Regions from separate parts of the Homo sapiens genome. Here region 2 is linked to region 1. Evidence: promoter capture Hi-C in 16 types of primary human blood cells and fetal thymus (Javierre and others, 2016). All regions are on one chromosome and are shown on one strand. Each heading gives the region's core, a stretch centred on a gene start or on the middle of the fragment in contact. The rest is flanking DNA. Distances are from core to core; before and after follow the strand shown.

Region 1 (5,305 bases), core at 1,885-4,384:
GTGCAGTGGCTCACGCCTGTAATCCCAGCACTTTGGGAGGCCGAGGTGGGCGGATCACGAGGTCAGGAGTTCGAGACCAGCCTGGCCAATATGATGAGACCCCATCTCCCTAAAAATACAAAAATTAGCTGGGCGTGGTGGCACGTGCCTGTAGTCCTAGCTACTAGGGAGGCTGAGGCAGAAGAATCGCTTGAACCTGGGAGATGGAGGTTGCAGTGAGCCATGATTATGCCACTACACTCCAGCCTGGGCAACAGAGCAAGACTCCATCTCAAAAAAAAAAAAATTAGCTGGGTGTGGTGGCATGCACCTGTAATCCCAGATACTTGGGAGGTTGAAGCAGGAGAATCACTTGAACCCAGGAGACAGACGTTGCAGTGAGCCGAGATCGCACCATTGCACTCCAGCCTGGGCAACAAGAGTGAAACTCCGTCTCAGGAAAAAAAAAAAAAAAAAAAAAAAAAGAATACCCTCTTCTCCAGTGCCTGGCACACTAGTAAAGGCTCAGTATGGTTGTTGCTTTAGGATGGAGGACTAACACTTCTTTCAAGTTCAAATAGGCGATTTCCAAACTCAATGCCAATTCTGAAACTGCTACTACTTATTTTTCAGGCAGTGGAAACACCTTTCTGGATGATTCTAAGGCAGAACTTGGCTCAAACTCTCAATGTTGCCACTGTTTTCGATATTAACCCGAAAAGCCTAAGATATACCAAAATCAGAAGAAGCCATTGAGACTATGTATGCTTACAGTAGAAAGGCATTCAGCATCAGCAAATAGGTCGAGTGCCTCCTGCTTCCCAGGCCAAATTTTCTGACCCCCCGCCAACAAAAACTAGCTTTCAAGAGGGCTCAGGCTGTCACAATGATTGGCATTCTTTGCTGTAAGTACTACAGTATTGACCTTGAAATTTTTATCCTTGAAAATTGAGTTTCATGAATGTTTATCAAATGTCTTGGTTCCAGGTTAAAAAAGTCTTTTTTTTTCTATGTGCTAGTCTGCCCTTATACCCTTACAAAAGAACTTGTCTTTAAGCCATAATTTAAATATTTACAAAAAATTTAAAATTAACACCTGTCCATGGTACAAAGCTCAGAAAACCCAACGGTCTTAGATGAAAACTGTCTCCTCCCATCCTTGTTCCGTATCTCTCCATTCCCTTCCTTAGGCTGGGCGATCGCTATTACCATTACCGCTATACTATGCTTACACATTCATATCTTCATTTATGTGGGTCTTCTTGTTTAAAAACACAAAGGCATATCTATACACATTTTCCTGTGCTTTGCTTTCTTTCACTTAATTTATCTCAGAGCTGGTTCCACATTAGTACATAAACTGCAGCTTTGCTCTTTTTAACGGTGGCAGGCCATTCCTCTGAAAGATGGCCTGATTTATTTCACCAGTTCCTGGTTTTGCGGCTCAGGATGGGAAAAAGGAAGTCTGAGTGAATCGCGTTGAGGTTACTAGGAATTGCCATGCTGCCCACCTCCCGAAGTGTTAGGAGGTAACATCTCATCGTCTCATCGCACTCCAGTGGAGTGTCGCGAAGTTGCAACTCGGCCCCAAGGCGGCCCGCACTTCCACCCGCACACAAAGGCAGGTCGCAGCCCCGCACGCGGGGACAGGGCCAGCAAGGGGCGGGGACCCTCGGGGCCGCCGCCTCCGCAGCCCCGCGTGTGGGACCCTGGGGCGGGCCGCCATCTTGTGGTGCGGCCGCCGCCTGCCAGGAGACACCTAGCAACTCCGCAGCGGCCATCTTTTACAAGAAACCTTCGCTGCAACCGCTGCGTCACATCACCGCGTCTCCCAGGGACAGGAAAGCCTCTCCGTGTTTGGTGAAGCTTCAGGGGAAGCAGTCATCCTGTCGTCGCATACGGCAAAATCCTCCATTGCCGTAGCCGTTCGGCTGACGTGACAAGGGAGGTGCAGGCCAACACGGCGACTCCGCGCCCTCTGGCGGCAGTGCCGGAGCAGCGGCGCTGTCTTTGACCTATCCGGCATTCGGCTTCCGGGACCGCTTGGCGGCTGTGAATGCAGAGCTGGGGCGACGTGGGGCTCGCTTCCTGGGACTGGGTGTGAGCTTGCGCAGTGAGCCATATGGGGGTCATGGCCTGGCGTGGGGGCGTGGCCGGGTGGGGCCGCTGGATTTGGTGCTGGAAAGCTAGGGAAGTAGTCGTGCGTTTAAGAACGGCCGGCCGGCGGGGTGGCTCAAGCATGTAATCCCAGCACTTTGGGAGGCCGAGGCGGGCGGACCACGAGGTCAGGGGTTCGAGACCAGCCTGGCCAACATGGCGAAACCCCGTCTCTACTAAAAATACAAAAATTAGCCAGCGTGGTGGCGTCTGTAGTCCCAGCTACTTGGAAGCCTGAGGCAGGAGAATTGCTTGAACCCAGGAGGCAGAGGTTGCAGTGAGCCGAGATCGTGCCACTTCACTCCAGCCTGTGCAACAGAGGGACACTCGTCCCCCCCCAAAAAAAAGCCCGGGCTGGGTGGCTTACACCTGTAATCCCAGTACTTTGGGAGGCCGAGGCAGGCGGATCATCTGAGGTCGGGAGTTCGAGACCAGCTTCATCAACATGGAGAACTCACCCATCTCTACTAAAAATACAAAATTAGCTGGGCATGATGGCGCATGCCTGTAATCCCAGCTACTCAGGAGGCTGAGGCAGGAGAATTGCTTGAACCCAGGAGGTGGAGGTTGCGGTGAGCTGAGATTGCACCATTGCACTCCAGCCTGGGCAGCAAGAGTGAAACTTTGTCTCTCTCTCTCTTTCTGTCTCTGGCACATACACACACACACGCACACACACGGGCCTCCTGTGGTCTCACTTGGTCCTCTTTGTGACAGTGCCATTGTTACCATTTACAGAGGAGGAACTGAAGCTCATGGTTGAGCCTCTCACTTGCCCACTTTGCCAAACCCTGGTAGGGATGGGATTAGAGGCTCCTTTTCTTTCGTGAAATGAGACAACGATCTGGGGGATCGTTGGAAGGATTAAAATGAGTATTCAGATTACAATGCTGGATTCTTAATAGTGTCCTCTGTTAATAATAATAATAATGTAGTAGCAACAGTCACGTAGTCTTTACAGTCACAGGTGCATGTGTGTAGATGGGGTTCTCTCTGTATTAGCCAGGCTGGTCTCCAACTCCTGGCCTCAGGCTATCTTCGCACCTCTGCCTCCCTTAGTGCTGGTATTACAGATGTGAGCCACTACACCAGCCTGCAGTTTTTACTACAACTCTGTGAGGTGATTAGTACTAGCATTCCCATTTGACAAATAAGGACAGTGAAGAAAGCAGAAGTAACTTGGCCAAGGTCACAGAACAGCCATAGCAATTCCTGGGTGGTGTGGAGTGGAAGGCTCTGGCCTTAACTGCTACACATTGTCTCTGGTAACAAGGCCCTGCCTGAAGTATATTCCGGCTTCTAGAGGTTGCAAGGAAATGGACCACTCATCAGTTCTTGCAGCCTCCTTATGATCTACAGTGGGACTTCGCAAAGGCAGGCCTAGTAGGAAAACAAAGAGAAGAGGGTTGGAAGAAGGGAAGGATTGGGGCTCAGAAATTATGAGGGAATGGACTAGAAAGGATAGAAACAAAGCTCTTGGGCAGGTGCAGTGGCTCACACCTGTAATCCCAGCACTTTGGGAGGGCAAGATGGGAGAATCAATTGAGGTCAGAAGTTCTAGGCCAGCCTGGCCAACATGGTGAAACCCCATCTCTACTAAAAATACAAAAAAAGAAAAAAGAAAAAAGAAAAAATGGGTCGGGAGCAGTGGCTCACACCTGTAATCCCAGCACTTTGGGAGGCTGAGGCGGGCGGATTACCTGAGGTCAGGAGTTTTATACCAGCCTGGCCAACATGGAGAAACCCCATCTCTACTAAAAATACAAAATTAGCCGGCCATGGTGGTGCATGCCTGTAATCCCAGCTACTCAGGAGGCTGAGTCAGGAGAATCACTTGAACCCAGGAGGTGGAGGTTGCAGTGAGCTGAGATTGCGCCATTGCACTCCAGCCTGGACAACAAGAGTAAAACTCCATCTAAAAAAAAAAAAAAAAATTAGCTGTGCTTAGTGGCACATACCTGTAATCCCAGTTACTCAGGAGGCTGAGGCAGGAGAATCGCTTGAACTAGGGGGATGGAGGTTGCAGTGAGCTGAGATCGTGCTACTCCACTCCAGCCTGGGCGACAGAGCCAGACTCTGTCTCAAAAAACAAAACAAAACAAAACAAAAATTAACTGGGCATGGTGTTGCAGGCCTGTAATCCCAGCTAATTTGGAGGCTGAGGCAGGAAAATTGCTTGAACCCGGGAGGTGGAGGTTGCAGTGAGCCGAGATCCTGCCACTGTACTCCAACGTGGGTGGCAGAGCGAGACTCCGTCTCAAAAAAAAAAAAAAGAAACAAAGCTTTTGTCCCCATCTCCACCAGAAGTGAAGAAAAGAATGGCTTCCAGCTTGAGGAATGGGGAATGGGGATGATGGTACTACACTACTACTACTACTATTAAATACTACTGCTACTGCTACAACACTACACATTCATATCTATTCTTAGAAGGTATTAATCCCAGAAATTCAGGTTGAGGTTGGGAAAAGTAGGTTCCTTATCCTTGGGAATCTGTTTACTTACCTATAAAACCAGAGTGTAGTAAATAGGAATCCCTGTCCTGGCTGCCTAGCCAGGTTGTTAGGAGGAAAGAGAGATTTGGTGTCCTATACTAGCATTCAGAATGACTTGTGATGGGACACTGTTTGCAAGGCTGGGGAAAGCAGGCTGTGATACCTACAAGTGGGAGTGTACATTTTTACAACTCCATGAGGAGGCAAGCTGGCATATCTGTTAATGTAACATTAATCCTTTGTACCAATCCTTTGATTAAGCACTTCAGGGCCAAGGAAACTATCTTACATATGTATTCCCCCATGTGCACAGACAAACGTAGAAAGAGGTACAGTTGAGGGCTGTTTGAATGGCAAAAGCATGGAAGCAAACTAATTGTTCATAAATAGGGGACTGGCTTGATTTTTGAAAAATGACACATCAAGCCTGAGCAACATGGTGAAACGCTGTCTCTACAAAAAATACAAAAATGAGCTGGGCGTGGTGGCAGGCACCTGTAGTCCCAGCTACTCAGGAGGCTGAGGCAGGAGGATCACTTGAGCTGCAGAGGCAGAGGTTGCAGTGAGTGGAGATCGCACTACTGCACTCCAACCTGGGTGACAGAGTGACACCACATCTCAAAAAAAAAAAAAAGACACATTTGTTTAACAGGAATTCTATGCAGCCCCTCCTA
Region 2 (5,305 bases), core at 748-3,247, 500 kb before region 1:
ATACAAAATACTGTTTTTTATTGGCAGATAATATATCGTGTTTTAGCACAACACATAAGCTGCTAGGCATTTATTCAATCTGATTGGGAATGGGTTAAATTTGGTTAAAAAATTTTACCTTAGGTTGCTTTAATTAAAAAAATGTTTAAGGCTGAGTGCAGTGGCTCACACCTGTAATCCTAGCACTTTGGGGGCACTGGGTGCAGTGGCTCACACCTGTAATCCTAGCACTTTGGCCTAGCACCGCTTGAGGCCAGGAGTTCAAGACCAGCCTGGCCAACATGATGAAACCCCATCTCTACTAAAAATACAAAAATTAGCCAGGCGTGGTGGTGGGCGCCTGCAGTCCCAGCTACTCAGGAGGCTGAGGCAGAATTGGTCAAACATGGGAAGCGGAGGTTGCAGTGAGCTGAGACAGCACTCCAGCCTGGGCAACAGAGGGAGACCCTGTCTCAAAAAATAGTAATAAATAAATTTAAAAAGTTCGGCCAGGCGCGGTGGCTCATGCCTGTAATCCCAGTGCTTTGGGAGGACGATCACCACTTTGGGTGGGCGGATCACCTGAGGTCGGGAGTTTGAGACCAGCCTGACCAACATGGAGAAACCCCGCCTATACTAAAAATACAAAATTAGCCGGGCGTGGTGGCGCATGCCTATAATCCCAGCTACTGGGGAGGCTGAGGCAGGAGAATCACTTGAATCCAGGAGGCGGAGGTTGCAGTGAGCTGAGATCGTGCCATTGCACTCCAGCCTGGGCAACGGAGTGAGACTCCGTTCTCAAAAAAAAAAAAAAGTTTAAAATATCATTGGTCTTTAAAGTTATACATTCATTCTTTGATAATTGCTATGTTGAACGCAACCTCCTAACTGCTTTACAATGATTAAGCACTAATGATTTGAACCCAGGTTTAAAGTCTGACTCTCAACACATGTGCTCTGCCTTCTCACGAACATGATTTCAAAAATCATAGCCCCGGGATTTGGGATTGGTGGCTTATGCCTGTAAACCCAGCGACAGAGCAAGACCCTACTCTTAAAAAAAAAAAAAATTAAAGAAAAAAAGAAAAATAAATCATAGTGTTGAACTGGCAGGTTTCACTGAGACGAAACTTGGGACTCTTCCTTTTTTTTTGTTTCGAATAAAGCCATTCTAGAATGAGACAAAATTCTAAAATATTTTATAGTTAACAGTTTAAATTGGGTTTAATCTTGACAAGACTATCTAGGGCTATATACACAAATCTCTTTTGGAGAAAATACCACAACTAAACTGAAGTCTATTCCTGAATATGACAGACCAGGTCAAATGGTTATCCTTGCCCTCCCGGGGGATGTCACTCATAAACGTGCCAAAAGTCACAGTCTAGGCCCCATTACCTTACATGCTCATGACCTTCCCAGGGAGGCCCCTCGCCCTTACCAGGCACTTTCATCTTGGGAAGACACATCAGTCCTGGCGGAGAAAGCAGCAAGGCCTTTCCCCGGCTCACAAAAATTAATACAAATCTCAGAGGCTGCATCCCACAGCCGTGACCACCGTGACTTGGCATCCCCTTTTCTGCAAACTTAAATGTTATCTAGAAATCGGGCCTGGCTCTGAAAGCCAAGGGCCTGGCAGGAGCCCGAGAAAGGGGAGAAACTTTCTGCGGCCCCAAGCTAATGGCAGTCACTGCACCGAGACCCGTCCCCTGGCATCCCTTTGCTCCAGCTGGCCAAGACAGACCACCAAGGTCAGCCAGATTTCCACCCAGTCTGGCCGGGCCCGGACCCAGCTGGGAATGAACCGAGAAGCACCGGGACCCGGATCCCGGCGTGAAAGGCCGCGCGCGGGGCACGGCGGGAAAAGACGCTGCGCGCAGAAACACCCGCCCCGCGCCGCGCTCTAGTGGGCGGCCCTGCCGCGGGCGGCTCTGATTGGACTGCCGAACCCCGCGCGCTGATTGGCCGCGTGGGCGAGGCGGAGGAGAGCCGTGCGCAGCGGCGTATGTGGGGCCGTGTGCAGACCCGCGTGTGGCGCAGGCAAGGACCCTCAAAATAAACAGCCTCTACCTTGCGAGCCGTCTTCCCCAGGCCTGCGTCCGAGTCTCCGCCGCTGCGGGCCCGCTCCGACGCGGAAGGTGAGGGCTGGGGGAGGGGCCCGGCGCTGACGGAGCCGCAGTGCGGGTCGGGTCTGTGGCGGACAGAGAGGGTAGGGAGCGGCGAGGTGGCGATGGCGGCCGCACTTTGGCCTGCGCCTCTGCTGCGTCAGGCGGGAAGCTCGGCTGCTGCCGCCGCCTCGGACCCGGGTTTCTGGCGCACCGCTGTCGGACGACACTTCTGTCCTTTCTTCGTCCTGGAAAGCTGGGTCGCCGAGCATGCGGGTCTTTCGGCGCCACGGCCGCACCCCAGGCCGCAGGCTTAGGGCAGAGGAGGCCCGCCCGTGCGCCCTTGGGGCCGAGGCCCTGACGCTTCGAGGGTCGCGGAATGAGGGACCGAGGGTGGATTTGGCGGGAACTCACTGGAAGGAGTCCGTGTGGTGGGGAAAGGCTCCCGGCTGCGGATGAAGGGGGGATGGGGTGGGTATAGTCGTGCAGGCCATGTGCTGGGGTCGTGCGCCTGGCGGGCCATGTGCCAAGGGTTTTGGGGGCCTTAGAAAAGGGTTCTTAGGCCGGGCGCGGTGGCTCACGCCTGTAATCCCAGCACTTTGAGAGTCCCAGGCGGGCGGATCACGAGGTCAGGAGTTCGAGACCAGCCTGACCAATATGGTGAAAGTTGGTCTGTACTAAAAATAAAAAATTAGCCGGGCATGGTGGCGGGCGCATGTAGTCCCAGCAGCTCGGGAGGCTGGACAGGAGAATCGCGTGAACCCCGGAGGCCGAGGTTGTGGTGAGCCGAGATCGCGCCACTACACTCCAGCATGGGCAACAGAGAGAGACTCCGTCTTAAAAAAACAAACAAACAAACAAACAAACAACAACAAAGGGTTCCTGAAGAAGCCTTTGTGTTTGGAGTGGCGAGACTGCTGGAAGACTTGGGAGCTTTTAGAGTTTATACTCCCTATCCTTGATAGTTTTCCGATTCTTGAATTTTTATCGTCATTTAAATACTAAGTTGCTTGTGTTACATTACCATTCCAAAAGGGGCTGATGGGGCTCACATTCCAAGAGTTAACACTATTTAAGTTGCTGGGATCCTTTAAAAGCGCCATTACCAGAAAAAACACGAATTTGTCAAACCTCCAAAACCACAGCAGCGGGCGGTAGTCTGCATCATTTCTTGGATTAATGAAACAGATGTAATTACAAACGAGACACGAAATTCAACTAGCTCCCCTCCATCTAGATTTTTCCATATCGTGAGAACCTGTTTTAGAATGGCATAATGGTCCACATTTGGGTTTAGGTGTTGATTTTATTATGGGTAAGGCTTGTGCTTGTTCCCACATGTTAACCATATGGCCTCAGCCACAGGGCACTTCCAAAGGAAGTGACTGTTTCTGGTCTTGGGGGTCTTGTAAAAAGAGAACATTGCTCAGTAATCGTCTGTGATTTTAGCTAGTGTGTTTCAGGCATTATTCAGAAGGACTCAGGTGAGATAAGCCAAAACTGAATTTGTTTTTTGTCTTTCTCAAAGTGAAGGAGGTCTAATGAATATCCCCATCTTGCTTTTAAATTACATTTTTAAAAGTAGATTTTTCCCCCTTTCCTATTGTTTGACCCAATTTTGGAGTGAAACGTAACCAGTTACTATTTCCATTCGAATTTAAATTAGCAATTTTATGTTATTTGTTTGTTCAAGCAGTATAACTGGAGTGTAGAGCTTTGAGGGTTTCAAAAAGATAAGAGATATAGTACTTATCTCCTGGGCTTCCCCCTCCCCCCTCCTAAATAGTTTTAAATGCTTCTAATGAGTTACTCTGGTTAAGGATAATCAAACACCTGTAAACTGCCAGGATCCTAGGTACATGCTGTTTTTAGTTTGTTGAGCCTGATTCTTGTCTACAAGAGTTCTTTGTGTATTGGAATATAAAAGGAATAATTTATTACATTCCCAAGGGCAGAATTAAAGACTTAAGTTTTTCCGATTTCATCTCTTGATAAGTTTTTCTTTAAAAAAATAACAGTTTGTGTTTTTCTGAGGAACCAAAGGTCCTCTTTTTTTTCATATTGGTAACAGGAGAGGTAATGTATTTCAGATGGTGCAGTCTGTAAAATATTTTGAACCAAATCAGTGGAAGACCAGGGGTTTTTCTTTTTTTTTTTCTGAGACGGAGTCTCACTCTGTCGCCCAAGCTGGAGTGCAGTGGCGCGATCTCGGCTCACTGCGACCTCCGCCTCCCGGATTAAGCGATTCTCCTGCCTCAGCCTCCGAAGTAGCTGGGATTACAGGCGCCCGCCGCCACACCCAGCTAGTTTTTGTATTTTAGTACAGACGGGGTTTCACCATGTTGGCCAGGCTGGTCTCGAACTCCTGACCTTGTGATCCGACTCCCTCGGCCTCTCAAAGTGCTAGGATTACAGGCAGGAGCCACCGCGCCTGGCCAGGTTTTTCTTAAACTGGCATTTGAACATCTGGAACAGGCAGGGAGATGTCTTTTTTAAAGTATAAATGTGTTTTGTTACATGATTTATGACAATTCTACTTGTCTTTTTTTTTTTTTTTTTTTTTTTTTTTGAGACAGAGTCTTTCTCTGTCGGCCAGGCTGGAATGCAGTGGCACAGTCTCGGCTCACAGCAGCCTCCATCTCCCGGGCTCAAGCAATTCTCCTGCCTCAGCCTCCCAAGTAGCTGGGATTACAGGCGTGTGCCACCACGCCCGGCTAATTTTTGTATTTTTTGTAGAGACGGGGTTTCACCATGTTGGCCAGGCTGGTCTTGATCTCCTGACCTCAGGTAATTCACCCGCCTCGGCCTCCCAAAGTGCTGGGATTACAGGCCTGAGCCACCGTGCCTTGCCAACAATTCTACTTGTCTTTTAAAGTTCAATAAAAATATGTGGCACGTATATGGGATAGTACCAAACTGGTGCCTAAAAGCAGTGAAACCACCATTGGACTAATTGGAATGATTTGTCTATTGGCTGAAGATTTGACCACAGAGAGATTCTGCTTTTTTTTCCTTGCAGGGATGAAAAATTAAAAAAAAAAAAAAAGATTGGTTCCTTTTTCTCTTCCTAGCCTCCTGACAGTAAGTAGAGAGCCAGAAGAATGATGCCAAGGCATCCTGGCCTGCTATGTGGAGAACGCTCTTTCCTTACTGTCTCACTTAATAGAACTCCTGTTCTGGCAGTGTCAGATGCTGCAGCAGCAAGGGAATGCCATTGAGTG

What was found. The method cuts DNA at HindIII sites, captures the fragments that hold promoters and counts their contacts. A CHiCAGO score of 5 or more calls a contact.
Region 2: the fragment with the promoter of CNBP here is called in contact with a fragment that was not itself captured in region 1 in 1 of 17 cell types (naive CD4 T cells); the score reaches 6.0 in naive CD4 T cells.

The regions. Positions count from the first base shown.
Region 1 is chr3:128,677,528-128,682,832 of GRCh38, reverse strand. No RefSeq gene overlaps it. Among named protein-coding and RNA genes, the nearest start is that of RPN1, 29 kb to the right of the region's middle. RefSeq lists a silencer at 1,457-1,676 and enhancers at 1,737-1,906, 2,017-2,146, 1,621-2,313. The HindIII fragment of the contact is 2,573 bases long and covers 1,848-4,420 here.
Region 2 is chr3:129,180,588-129,185,892 of GRCh38, reverse strand. CNBP (CCHC-type zinc finger nucleic acid binding protein) reads left to right here and starts at 1,997. Exons shown (of 5, transcript NM_003418.5): 1 at 1,997-2,117. LOC105374101 (a long non-coding RNA gene) reads right to left here and starts at 1,819. Exons shown (of 2, transcript XR_924469.3): 1 at 1,421-1,819. RefSeq lists an enhancer at 1,574-1,663. The HindIII fragment of the contact is 13,108 bases long and covers 1-5,305 here.